Regions from separate parts of the Homo sapiens genome. Here region 1 is linked to region 2. The links are contacts of gene promoters, found by promoter capture Hi-C in human tissues and cell types (Jung and others, 2019). All regions are on one chromosome and are shown on one strand. Each heading gives the region's core, a stretch centred on a gene start or on the middle of the fragment in contact. The rest is flanking DNA. Distances are from core to core; before and after follow the strand shown. Region 1 overlaps PIWIL4-AS1 (PIWIL4 antisense RNA 1). Region 2 holds the start of CWC15 (CWC15 spliceosome associated protein).

Evidence for each region. Contacts are between HindIII fragments. The study calls those that stand out against the background at their distance.
Region 1: a contact is called between a fragment that was not itself captured here and the fragment with the promoter of CWC15 in region 2, in 1 of the 25 tissues and cell types used here (IMR-90 fibroblasts).

What each region holds. Positions count from the first base shown.
Region 1 is chr11:94,664,942-94,671,287 of GRCh38, reverse strand. The region is part of intron 4 of PIWIL4-AS1 (PIWIL4 antisense RNA 1); the gene reads left to right. Among named protein-coding and RNA genes, the nearest start is that of LINC02700, 30 kb to the right of the region's middle. The HindIII fragment of the contact is 6,066 bases long and covers 1,121-6,346 here.
Region 2 is chr11:94,971,257-94,977,804 of GRCh38, reverse strand. CWC15 (CWC15 spliceosome associated protein) reads left to right here and starts at 4,249. Exons shown (of 7, transcript NM_016403.4): 1 at 4,249-4,307; 2 at 5,612-5,750; 3 at 6,318-6,430. The coding sequence starts at 5,620. It overlaps KDM4D (lysine demethylase 4D), which reads right to left and starts at 4,096. Exons shown (of 3, transcript NM_018039.3): 1 at 3,737-4,096; 2 at 2,057-2,151. RefSeq lists enhancers at 3,843-3,992, 4,313-4,482, 4,197-4,972. The HindIII fragment of the contact is 10,665 bases long and covers 1,388-6,548 here.

The sequences.
Region 1 (6,346 bases), core at 2,904-5,403, 310 kb after region 2:
ATCTGAAGTTGAACGCCAGTAATTTTGCATGAAAATGGTGGAGGCCTTTCAAGGCTCTGGATGATATGTTTTTCCAGAGAGGATTTACTTCTGCTTCTGAAGGCAATCCAGATCGAGACAAGTCAGTTAATCAACTCCGTAATTGAACCGATTTGAATCTGTGCTTTAGTCTTTGTGATGTCCAGCCTGTTTCCAATTCATCATTGCTCCTGGAGTGTTGACCTTCCATGTGTTTACCAGTGTCCCTCCACCTTGGTGGGCTCTTAATCCCAATTTTTAACTTCCAAAAAATGACCACTGAAAGCTTTGCTTAGCTTCTCAGCTCTTTAGCCACCATTTTCTGCCCAGTTTTTGGGTCTCTTGGCTGCCTCTTAGAAGTCAGAAAATACCTTGAGGGGTGTATCAGTCTGTTCTTGCACTGCTATAAAGAACTACCTGAGACTGGGTAATTTATTTTTAAAAAAGATGTTTAACTGGCTCACAGTTCTGTGGGCTGTACCGGCTTCTGCTTCTGGGGAGGCCTCAGGAAACTTACAATCATGTTGAAAGGTGAAGGGGAAGCAAGCACGTCTTCAATGGCAGAGCAGGAGAGAGAGAGTGAAGTGGGAAGTGCTACACACTTTAAAATAACCAGATCTCATCAGAACTCACTCATAATCACAAGAAGAGCAAGGGGGAAATCCACCCCCATGATCCAATCATCTCCCACCAGGCCCCTCCCCAAGATTGAGGATGTCAATTCAACACGAGATTTGGGTGGGGACAGAGCCAAACCATATCAAGGGGGAAAACTGGTTCCAAATGTTGGGGTAACATTTTCTTTCTCTTTGGGATTTTGACAATTCCGGTCATCACTGCCTTCCTGCCAATACACTTAAAAATAATATTTATCTATATATTATTTTAAAGGTATGTATATTTAATTTAAAAACATATATACATGCAAATAATACGTATATATTATTTTAAAGGCATGTATATTATATGTGTGTGCATATTATATATATATACACACACACATAGTTTTATAGTTCTCAGCAACATGGTTATTTTAATTCAAGCTAGTCCACGAGAGTTGGAAAATAAAATACTTATTTTTATTTTATATACAAAGAAACTGAATCATAGGAATGTTAAATAACTTCCCTAGTTACTATGTTTTAAGTGAAACATTTACATATTTATTCAAAAATATTTACTAAGCACCATCCATGTATTAAACACTGCTGTGGGCATTGTGGATGCACAAATTAATAAGCCAGCCCTTGTCTTCCAGGATCTCAGGGTTGAGTGGAATCAACTCATAATTCAGTGCAGTCAGTGCAACTACTGAGGAAGGGGCAGTTGCTCAGGAGCTCAGGTGAGGGATCTGGCCTGGGTTTATCATGCTCACCTAGACTTCTTTCTCTACATAAATATCTCCCCTAGGACACAGTGAATTTCTTGAGGTCATAGTGTGGGTCATTCATTTCTCCATTCCCAATGCCCAACATGGCGCCTGGAACAAAGCGAGGGCTCCATAAATACCTGTTGAGTTGCATTCATTCTCAAACAGGGAAGAAGAAAACAAGGATAGCATGAAGGCTGTAAGATAATGGATAGTACCTTAGTTGCCAGTCAGGAATACCTAGTCCACCTTCTTCCCAGTAACTTGTGTGAACAGGGCAAGTCACCTTCCCTGTCTGGGCCCATTTTCTCACCTGGAGACTGGGGAGGTTGGACTGGATAATACCTAAGATCCCTTCCAGCTCTGTGTCCCTGTAGCTAAGTGTGACCCAACTGATGAAGATGAATGGCCGTAGCCTAACCCAGTGTGTCCCCGTGTGCCCTCTCCAGGCTGCAGTTGTGGTCAGATGGTCTTTTAGACAAAACTAGGGTGGCTGTTCCTAGGTCTATCTCTCTTATTTTTTACTGTGGAAAAATGTAGAGTGAAAAGCTTTTCTCTGATAAATGCCAGGAATTCTGCACAGGAGAGGCCTGCTTAAGGGAGGAGGAGTATGAGGAGACATTTTCTACGTCCTCTTCCCCTGGGCTGGCTCCAGCCTGCCTACTCTGTCTCTCACTTTTCCCAGCACAGAATTTACTTTCCTGTTTGAGAAAACAGTGCTGTGTCAATGGCAAGCGCGATGCTTAGGGAGGAAGCCAATTCCCTCTGCTAGTTTGGCTAAGTGGCATTTCTCTGTCTGGGAAATGGGGTTGCCCAGGTCTCACAAAGGCATCTCCAGAAACGAGTGGACACAGATTTACACTCAGCTGATTAGTGGGGTGACCTGCACCCCCATTACCCCTGAGAAAGAGTATTTGCCTCCAAAAGGCTCTGTGAAAGCAGAGAAGTATTGGCACTAGAGCAGCAGGGGAGGCTTAGAGGTTCAGCCAGCTCACCCCATCTCATGGATGAAAACCTGGGCCCTGAGTGGGTTAGTGGCTCTCCCAGGTCACACAGTTGATTTGCAAGGTAGAGTATAGAGTTTAATGTTACAATGAGACAGCTCAGCTGGCCCCCTGGGTGGGAGCTGGGCTTTATTTCATTCTTGAATCACATCATCAGTTTCAGTCTCTGTCTCATCACAGGTGCCATCAGCCTCCCAGCATTGCCAGGCTTGAGTTCCCACCCCAGACCCTGAAGTCTGCTGGGGGGAAATGACTGGGCCAGTTATGTATTTCCAAACATACAACTCCCAAGGTGGGAGGAGGGAGAGGAGGCAACCAGGGTTGCTTTTGTGGATTATGCAGTTACTGACCTAAATTTCATGTTGCCAGGGGGCTGGGGGCCGGGGGGCGAGAAGAACTGCCACAGGTAACACTGACATGTTGGAGAAAGTGCTGAGGAGATGAAATGCTGACTAGGGTCTTTGAAAATGTTGTCTGTTTTAATTGGATGTGTCTCTTCAGAACCCACTGGTGGCAGGCCCATCACAGGCTCCTTTTAATCAGTGGAATCCACATTTCCCCACTACAGCTTTGCACAGAAGAGAGAGCAAGGGGGCAGAGGCCAGGGGGAAGATGTGGTTCTAATTGGAAATATGGTAATTTGGGAAGAGGATTCTATTTCAAATAGAATTGCCAGGTTTCTTCTGCTTTATGCCTTACTGAGTAGATTTTTCGAAGGAGAAAGAAACTGTTCATCTTTTGGAGCAAGGGCCTGGGGTGATATTCTGACCCATTTTATTCTCTTCTTCTACAATGTACATATGTATATGCTGTCCTTTTCCAAGGTTTCCAGTAGCAGAGTTCACTGTTCCCCCGTGCAAGGGGCAGTACAGAGAGGAGACAGACAGGTACATCCAGCAAGGGCAGGAAAGGAAGGGCCAAGCACGAGTGGGAGAAGCCAAAAGACTGGGATCTCATACCAGGGGTCAGGATAGAGAATCTCTGACCAGGGTGAGGCTGGGATTGACCCTCATGTTCATTCTTCACTCAACAAACATTGGTGGGCAGAGCTACTCACTGTTAGGACCTGGAACTCTCCCATTATAAGTCGTAAGGGCCCCCACGCTACATGCCAAGCTCATCTTGGGACAAATCCAAACACTTGGGGAGGTCTTAGGACTAACAGAGGTATCTGAAGCGTGTGGAGACCCCAACCACAGAGTACCATCAAAACCCTGTGGCCCACCCAACACCATAGGCAGGCTCTCAGTTAGGTCCACTGACCTAGTCTGCACAAGCTGCTATAACAGAATACCATAGACTGGGTGCTTTGTAAACAACAGAATTTTGTTTTTTTCAGTTCTGGGGTCAGGAAGTCTAAGATCAAGGCACTGGCTGATTTAGTGTCTGGAGAGGGCCTGCTTCCTGGTTCATAGACGGCTGCCTTCTGGCTGTGTCCCAACACTGTAGAAGGGGAAGGATGCCCTCTGGGGCCTCCTGGATATTTATCCTGTTCATGGGGTATCACCTCCCAAAAGCTCCACCCCCTAATACCATCACTCGGAGGGGTTAGAATTTCAACATATACATTTTGGAGGGATATAAACATTCAATCTATAGCACCCACATCCTCAGGACAGCCTCAGAATCAATCAAGATTGAGAGATAGGTAGGAAGAAGTAAAAAGGGAGAGCGCTTTGGGTTGGTTTGTTACATAACAGTGGATCACCAAAACAGATGGCAAGCCAATAGAATAAGAGTCAGCAAATTTTTCTGTAAAGGGCTAGGTATATTTTGGGTTCTGCAGGTCAAATGGTCTCTGTGGCAATGACTCAATTTGCCATTATAGTCAAAAGCAGCCACAGACCATACTTAAACAAATGAGCATGGCTGTGTTGCAATAAAACTTTATTTATGAAAACACGTGGCAGGCCAGATTCAGTGCACCAATTGTAGTTTTCCTGCCTGCAATGGAGGGTTTGAAGCAGCAGAGTGATATGCTCTCGTTTAGACCCAGAGAGCTCTTTCTGACAGCCATGTGGAGGACGGACTAAAGGAAGTAAGAGCTGAGGTGAGGCTGTTGTCAGGTGAGAGATGATGATGGCTCAGCCTAGAGTTTTACTAGTAGAAGTGGAATGATTTAATTGTAAATCTATGTTGGAGGTGGCACTGACAAGATTACCAAGACAGCTAAGCAAATAGCCAATTGATGATTGCTTTGAGGGAAGTATGCAAAAGGAAGCTATGGGAACTTAGAGAAGGGGTACCCAGATTATGGGGATTATGACAGGCTCCCTGGAGGAGGCAACTGCTGAATAGGAAATAACCAGGGGAAACACCTGGAAGGATAATCTTTCAGGAAAGCAGAGTAGTAGCAGCTCATAATGGCTAAGGTTGGAGGAGTCCAGAGTGTCAAAAATAAGAGGTAACAGATGGTAATGACTCTGGAGGGCGGGCAGATGTCAGATCTTGAAAGTTCAAGAGGCCATTCCCTGCAAGATTAAAGATGGAGCAGCCAGCTAAGAGTCACCAGTCCTTTTCCAGGCCTTCTTCCCAACCATTCTTTCCAAGACTGCCCTAGGACATCTTCCCACTGTGAGTTTTGAAACTTTCCTCCTACAAAGGGAGCTCAGATGCGTTATCAGGAGCCCTGGCTGCCACACTTGATAGGTATGGGCCATATCGCAGGTCCTGCTGACCCTGAGTTTCCTCATCAGTAAAGTGGCGGTAGTAACAATCTCACAGAGTCGTTGGGAAGATCAAATGTGTATGAAAATGCTTTGCAAATGCCACAGAAATGCTAGGGTTTGTTAAGGTGACAATGTTGATTATTAAAACAGCATCCTGTGTCTCCTACAAGTTTATTTTGTTGTTTTCTCATTTTACGTCCTCACAATTCTCTCCTGATGATTTTTCTGAGTTATGAGAAGAGCTCTTTGTTCCTTGCTCCAAAGTTCTATGGGGATATGGTCACCCCGCCCCACCGCTGGGAAGAAAGCTGTTTTGGCTTTATTCACTTCCCCCAGGATGCCCAGGAACTAGCGTGGATGTTTCCCAAGCAGTTTTCAACTTGGCCTTGAAGCCATTGCTGCAGGCTGGCCGGCCCAAGGAGCAATCCTCCACTACTCCTCCCCACCACCAGCAGAGTCTTCCTCATCCTGCACTAGCAATTCCTCTCAAAGAAAGTGCTTTTCCAAGAGACAGGTAAATGGCCTTGAAGTGCTTACCCTTCATCTCTCTCCCTCTTGTTCTGTTTCTCTCCTGGCATTTCAGAGAGCTTTTCAGAAGGCCTGTGTGCATGTGGCATTTCAGTTCCGTGGCTCAGTGCACAGTGTGGTTTGACAGCTTACCTGAGGCAATTTAACCCTCCATGTTGCTCCATAACCTGCAGGTGTTCCAGGCTCAGCCCAGAGACACAGTCCTCAGCTCAGTGCAGACCCTCATCCCTGAGTCCATGGCACTACACAGCTCCTGCGAAGCTGTTCATGTAGACTTTAATGTGAGTGATGCCTCTCAGGGTTGACAATGCACAACCTGTGCAGCTGTCCATGACAGCACTGCTCACTGTTTCTTAACCATGTGTTTTTATGGTTACTATCAGAGCTCAGAATCTGACCTGTTGAACTGACCAAGCCTTTAGAGCCTGGTAATTCAACAGCCTTAATAGAGCAAGCACAGGCTTTGCATCAGCCTGACCTACGTGCTAATCCCGGAACCAGGCTAAGAAACCTAGGCAATTTCTTTTTGCTTGTGTGGAAATAATACTTACTATATGGGGTTGTTGTGAGGACAAAATTTCAAACATGGAGCTTATGTTACAAATAAAGAGAGTGAAGCCACTGAGGTTGAGGGCTGGCTTGAACATAGTGTTCTGACACCAAGTGGCATGTGATAGGTACTCAATAAATGCTTGATCAATTGAGGAAGCACATCAATAACAGGCCCTCGGGTGGTGATTCTGTGGGAATTTTATTTT
Region 2 (6,548 bases), core at 3,000-5,499:
CTGAGCAAAACAAAGATCTCTGCCCTTTTAGAACTTATATTCTACATGGGAGAAGTAGAGAAAGAGACAATAAATGTAACATAACTAAATTATATAGGGTCATGGAAGATGATAAATGCCATGTAATTATATATAATATAATTTTAAAAGATAAAAAGAAGAAAGAGGGGAAGGGAGATACGGAGTACAGAATGTTAGGGGACAGAGAGGGAGAACAGTTGCAATTTTAAGTAGAGATGCCCAAGGTTCGTTGGACTCCATTTGAACAAAGACTTGAGTAAGACAGGAAAGAATAGCCTTGGCAGAGAAAATAGCTAGTGTGAGGGCCCTAAAGCAGGAGCAGCTGTGTGCGTGTCCAAGCAACAATATGAAGGAGGTAGCCATGAAAAGCATGAGCAAGTGATGAGGTCAAAGAGGTAGGGGAAAGGGTAGACCATAGAAAACTTTGGAAACCATTGTGAACACCTTGGCTTTTACTGTGAGGGTAATGGGGGACCAATGCCCCCCGCTGTCTGACTGGATCCCCTTTTCTCTCAATCCCATCCAACTATGTTATTAATTTTTTTAATTGTTGCCAATCGGATGCTGTAATGTGATAATCCATTTTTAGTTTACTTTCATTTTCCTCATTAGAAGGTTGAGTGTCTTTCATGTTTATTGACTTGTCTATTTGAAATTGCTTTTTCTGAATGGCCTGCTTATATCTTTTGTCCATTTTTTAATTGGGTAATTTGTGATTTTTATATTATGTGTATCACTAGCAGTAGCAGTAATCCTTTATATGTTATAGGCATTACAAAATTTATTTGCGAATCTAGAATTTATTGACTTGTTTTTGGCATCTACAGCTATAAAATTAATTGTTGGATAAATGAATTTTTAAAAGTATTTCTTTTAAAGCTCTTAAGGTGTTCTGCTTTGATTGAAAGGTCTTTCCAAATTCTAGGTTCTATAAATAGTTTCTTAAATTTTCTTCTTAGGTTTTTATGGTTTCTATTTTCCCTTTTAGGTGTTGATTTTGTTTAAGCTTTAAACTGGAATTCCTATGCTACTCCTGCCATAAAAATAGAAAGTTTTGCAATCAAGGGCCAAACTACATCCCTTTCACATTTAATTAAATGCTACCTTTGGCATACTAAAATGAAAGAGCCTTTTTTAAGGTTAAGATATACTATACCATGTCCAAAAGCTGATAAAAATGATCTGAAAGGGATGGCCTCATAGATCATAAGAAAGAGAAAATATATAGCAAAATGCCAGCCACTAAGAAACCTGGAGGAATTAGGACCCAGAGCACAAGGGAGAGTGTGGGTCACCTCATCTCCAGTAATAATGAGAATCTGAGGATACAGGAATAGCCAAAGGCAGCTCGATAGATCTGCGGAAAAAAGGAGATGAGAAGTCCTTGTTTAAGAGCTTCTGTTTTCTCAGAGAACTGAGAAGATCTACTGCCAGGAAAGAGAATGCAGAGGGAAAAGGAGGTGAAAGAGGCATGTAGACTTGAAGAAAGGGGAATGTGGGAAATTATATTATTGTAGAGGGGGAAAATAAACAATTAGGAGAGCATAAGAGGACTGGCAGGCAGAATTAAGGGCCAAACTAGATTTTGTGGTAACAGGTTTAACATAAGAATTCTTGGGAGGTTATATGATTTTTGCCAGCTAGGTTAACTGATCAGATGAATTTCAAGATTTTAGTAAACTTAAGTTTCTTTTTCTTAATACTTTCAAACCATTTAAGTCAAAAGCTTTAGTTTCATTTTCTTATTAGCACTTTCATTTAAGTCAAAAGCTTTTAATTTTGTGGATTGACTATATTGTATATTGGTGTTAATGAAATTATAGGGTGGCTATTTATCACCACTGGCAACCAAAAGATTAGGTTAGTGGGCTGGGAGTTAAATCAATGAAGTGATTCACTCCAGGCTAATGAGGACAGTTGGAACATAAAAACTGTGGGTATCTCCTATAATTGTGTTACCATCTTGCCATTGTTACGTCATTCCTCTACTTCATAGTGCATCATTCATTCATTCATTCATTCAACAAATACTTACTCAGCACCTATTATGTGCCAGGCACTGTTCTATATGCAGAGGATACACCCAGTGAACAAGAGAGACAAGGTTCCTGCTTTCCTGGAACTTATGTTCTAATATAGGAAGATAGACAATAATAATAAAAATAATATTAATAATAATAATAATAGCTAACATTTATTTAGCAAGTACTATTTGCTGAGACAGTTCTAAGCACTTTACAAGTATTAATTCACTTAATCCTTAGAGTAGTATTACAAGTTAGGGACTAGAATTACGCCCATTTTACACGTGAGGAAACTGAAAGCACAGAAAGGGAAAATGACTTGCCTAAGGTTATAGAGCTAGGAAAGGGCAGAACTGGAATTTAGAACAAAAATGGGCAGGCTGAAGATCCTTTTCTCTTAATGACCTTCGCATGCTGTCTCCTGAGAGACATGGAAATAAAAAATGAATAGAATAGACTCTGGTAATGTTTAGTGGTATGAAAAATGAAACAGGGTGATGTGATGGTGTACAAACACAAGTGTTGGAGGGGTGGGGGTAGGAAAACCTCACTGTGATACCTGAGACATGAAGGATGGTGATACAGTTACTTTGGGGCACAGGCAACAGAGAAAAGCTAGTGCAAAGGCCCTAAAATAGAAGGAATCTTGCCCTGTTTTATAAAACAGAAATGCCCACTTGGCTGTGTCTAGAGCTTAGTGCGTAAGCGAGTGACTGATTGGAAGTGAAGTCTGGAAGGTAGGCAGGAACCAGACTCCGTGGGGTCTCAGGTCACATTAAGAAATGTGATTTTTATTCTAAGTGCAGTGAAATTGTACACAGGATAGTAACACCATTTTATTAATTTTAAAAGATCACTCTCTTGGCTATATGCAACACTGACTGTAGGATAAAAGATGACGCAGGAAGATATAATAGGAAGCAATTACAATCCAGGTAGGAGATGGTGTTGGCAAAGGCAAGGGTAGTGGCAGTAGAATAAAATTGCGGGTGAGTTTTAAAAGTAGAATTGTTAAGACCTGTAAATGAACCGTATGTGAAGAGTGAATGAAAAGGAATTTAAGTAGGCACTCCGGGATTTTGGTTTGAGTAACTAGCATGATGATCGCGTCTTTTAGTGAGACTTGTTAAGACTGGAGGAGGGATACCTTCGGTAAGAAAAATCAGGATTTTCATCTTGAACTCTATGACTGAAAGGGCTTTTTCTGCTTTTCTTTCTTCATTAAAAAGTTGCAAAGAATTTAGGGGTAAGAAAGCATTTAAATATTCAATTTTGTGAGTTCCTTACATTTTAAACTAAGTTGGGGAAGTTGAATTTTCATTTGTTTAACAAATATTAATTGAGCAGCTACTATACGTCAAGGTCTATGTGATGAGATACCAAGATGAGCTAAACAACCAAGATCTCTATTCTCAGAATTTGTTTTTATGGAAGGGAGGAGAGACGACTGGTAGGTTTTTGGTTTTCGGGTTTTCTACTTTTCGTTGTCTTATTAAAACTTAACACTTAAGTAGCCATCTTAATAATTACATCTTGTGCTCCTGGTAGTTGGGCCCACCATTGTAAACGCTCTCGTAAATACTGACATCTCCCCTCCCACTAAAACTAACGTTTTTTAAATAAGAAATTTTAGCAAACATTACGAATACAACCTTTGCTTTGAAGTGTTAATATTTTTGCAGGAATGGTACCTTTGTAAAGATCGTGGTTGCCCCGTACATATTTGTTCTTTCTTCATATCCAATTAAATGAAAACACTAGTTTTTCCGAAGCCCAACTCTCTAGGTTTGTTGGTTCTAGCTCAGGAGAAAGGATGGAAGCAGGAGTCGTTGGATTTAAACAGTTTGGTGTAATCCTTTTCCACGCTCTCTCCCGCTAGCCGGGGACGTGGTGTCGGCTACCCGGGGCTTTCCGTCCACGCAGTACCGGAATGAAGGAGTCTGGGAGGGGGTCGGGGACGGAAAAGACGGAAGAGACATTAAGTAATTGGTTCTTGAAGGTATAAAATGAGGTTTAGGGTCTACTCTAAGGCACTGATTTCAAACGCCCGCCCCCTGGGCCGCTTCGGCCCCGCCCCTTAGTGCCGTTACGCCGACTTCCACTTCGGCCACTGCGGATTGGTCGTTGCTTCCGCCCCCGAAGCGCTTGGATTTTGCTTCCGGGTCGTAGGCGCTAGCTCTGGGCGCAGAGGTTTCTGGGAGCCAAGAGTGGTAATGGCGTCTGTATGATCTTCGGAGCCTGCTGCATCGGACCTCGGCCAGTGTGAGCGGCAAGAGGATAGGAGATTATCTTTCTTATCGCGATGGGACGGGAAAGGGCAGTTGGGGTCGGAGTCGGCGGCAGAGTGCAGAGCGCGGGCGGTGGAGGCCCTGGAGCAGCGGGCTAGGGGCGGAACCGAGTGCCTGTCAGGCGCGTCTGGAGCTCTTGGGCCCGCCGAGGAGATCGCAGCGTACAGGCAGCTCGCCTACTGCGTAAAGCGAACCCCAGGTCCTCCCTTCACTACCCTTCGCACCCCTGCAGTGCTGGGCACGGGTGAAGAGGCAGCGAGTTTCTGGTTATAGCCAAAGACTAGCTCACGGGAGGCCGGAGTGATAATTCCGTGGGTGTGTGGGAAGGGGCGGCGCCCCCAGCGCCAGATAACCCTGTTTTCTTCTTTGTATACATGTCTCTACCCTTTTTGAAAGTTGAGAGAATTAGCATCGCCCCCCCCCCAAAAAATCCTCCCAATTCGCCCACCCTCCCCACACACTTGCTTTTCCGACACTAACAGGGTTTTAGTGACTGCATCTGCTGCACAGTATTCTTGTGACTGCTCCAAGCAGAAAGTAACTTGAGGAATGAGTCCCTGATTTTTGGCATCAGAATCCTCTGGGGGTGAGGTTCCTGTTTTTTTTGAACAGGCCTTAAATTATAACCCACAAACGATCTAATTTATAGTATGATGCCTGTTGTAGGAGAAAATTGGCTCAACAAACGGTTGTTTAAGAATTTTTTTCTGTGTAACTGTCATTGAAGTTTAACACACTTTTCTCTGGGACATTTAGTAACTTTGTCAGTGATATTTTTTGTTTGTTTTTAGCTTTTGTTTCTACTAGCCTATTTGCTATTGTGTGAAGTTTAGATAAAATGCAAACCTTACAGAGTCTGGTAGAGTAAGGTTGAGTTGGAAATTTTTAAAACTCAGTCATGGCAGTACTGTATTTTACTAGGGTTTTGACATGTCAAGTGTCATAATTCTTATAATCTATGAGGAATATCTCCATTCCACAGATGACAAAGTTAAGCCAGGTGACTTGCTCAAGCCCATATAGTCAGAAGGAGAATAGGGATGCAAACTCAGATCTTCATGACAGAATTTTTTGTACTAAGGCAAGCCTGAGAAGCCATATTCCTTGTACAGCCTAAGCCTCATAATTTGTTTTCTTGAAAACTTTTGTTTAAGAAGATTAAGCAGGTTTTGGGGAATGAGTTTTAGAACTTATTTTACCAGTATGGATATTGATTAATACTCTATAAAATGAGTGTTTGTAATGTTGGAAATAACTTGATTATATTTTTCTTCAAAGCATAAAAGATGACAACAGCAGCCAGGCCAACCTTTGAACCTGCCAGAGGTGGAAGGGGAAAAGGAGAAGGTGATTTGAGCCAACTTTCAAAGCAGTATTCAAGCAGAGACCTACCCTCTCATACAAAGATAAAATACAGGTAGTAAGACTTTCTTTTTTTATTGTTCACAAAACAAGACCAGATCTGTTAAATGGCATGGTCATGATATAGTAGTATGTTTGAGTTATGTCACTTATCTATTTTCATAGGAATAGAATGCAATAGGATGTTTAACACTAAAATTCTGCTGTGATTTTAAAATGTGAAATTCCTACTAACCAGGAATTTTCATATGTAGATAGAACAATAAATAATAGAAATAATAATGCCTCAGAGTATGCACTATGAGCACCAGTCAGTATATTAAAAGTATTACTGTTAAGTTCTGAGTTGATATAATCCTAATAAAAATTAAAGACATTTTAATCACTGTAAAGCCTTATTATAGGAAAATATGTGATTGAATTTGGACTTCTTGAAATATTGGGAACATCACAAGAGTGGCTGTTAGTAACCTTCAGATTAAATTATGATCTTGTCTACTTCCCTTTTTTCTGCTTGAAGGACAAAGTCTCATTCCTGAATTGTCTTCCATTACTACAGTCTCTGTGTGTGTGTGTGTGTGTGTTTAAGTAACATTTTTGCCCTGGTTTGTTTCTACTTTAGACAGACTACTCAGGATGCCCCTGAAGAGGTTCGTAACCGTGACTTCAGGAGAGAGTTGGAAGAAAGAGAGAGAGCTGCTGCAAGAGAGAAAAATAGGGATCGTCCAACCCGAGGTACCAACACTATCCAAGACATTTGTCTCATAAAATTATGTTGTTGATAGTTTTTCTTTATGTAGCAATTGGAAAATGTTAACCATTTGTTTACTTTTACAGATTGATGTGAGCTGTA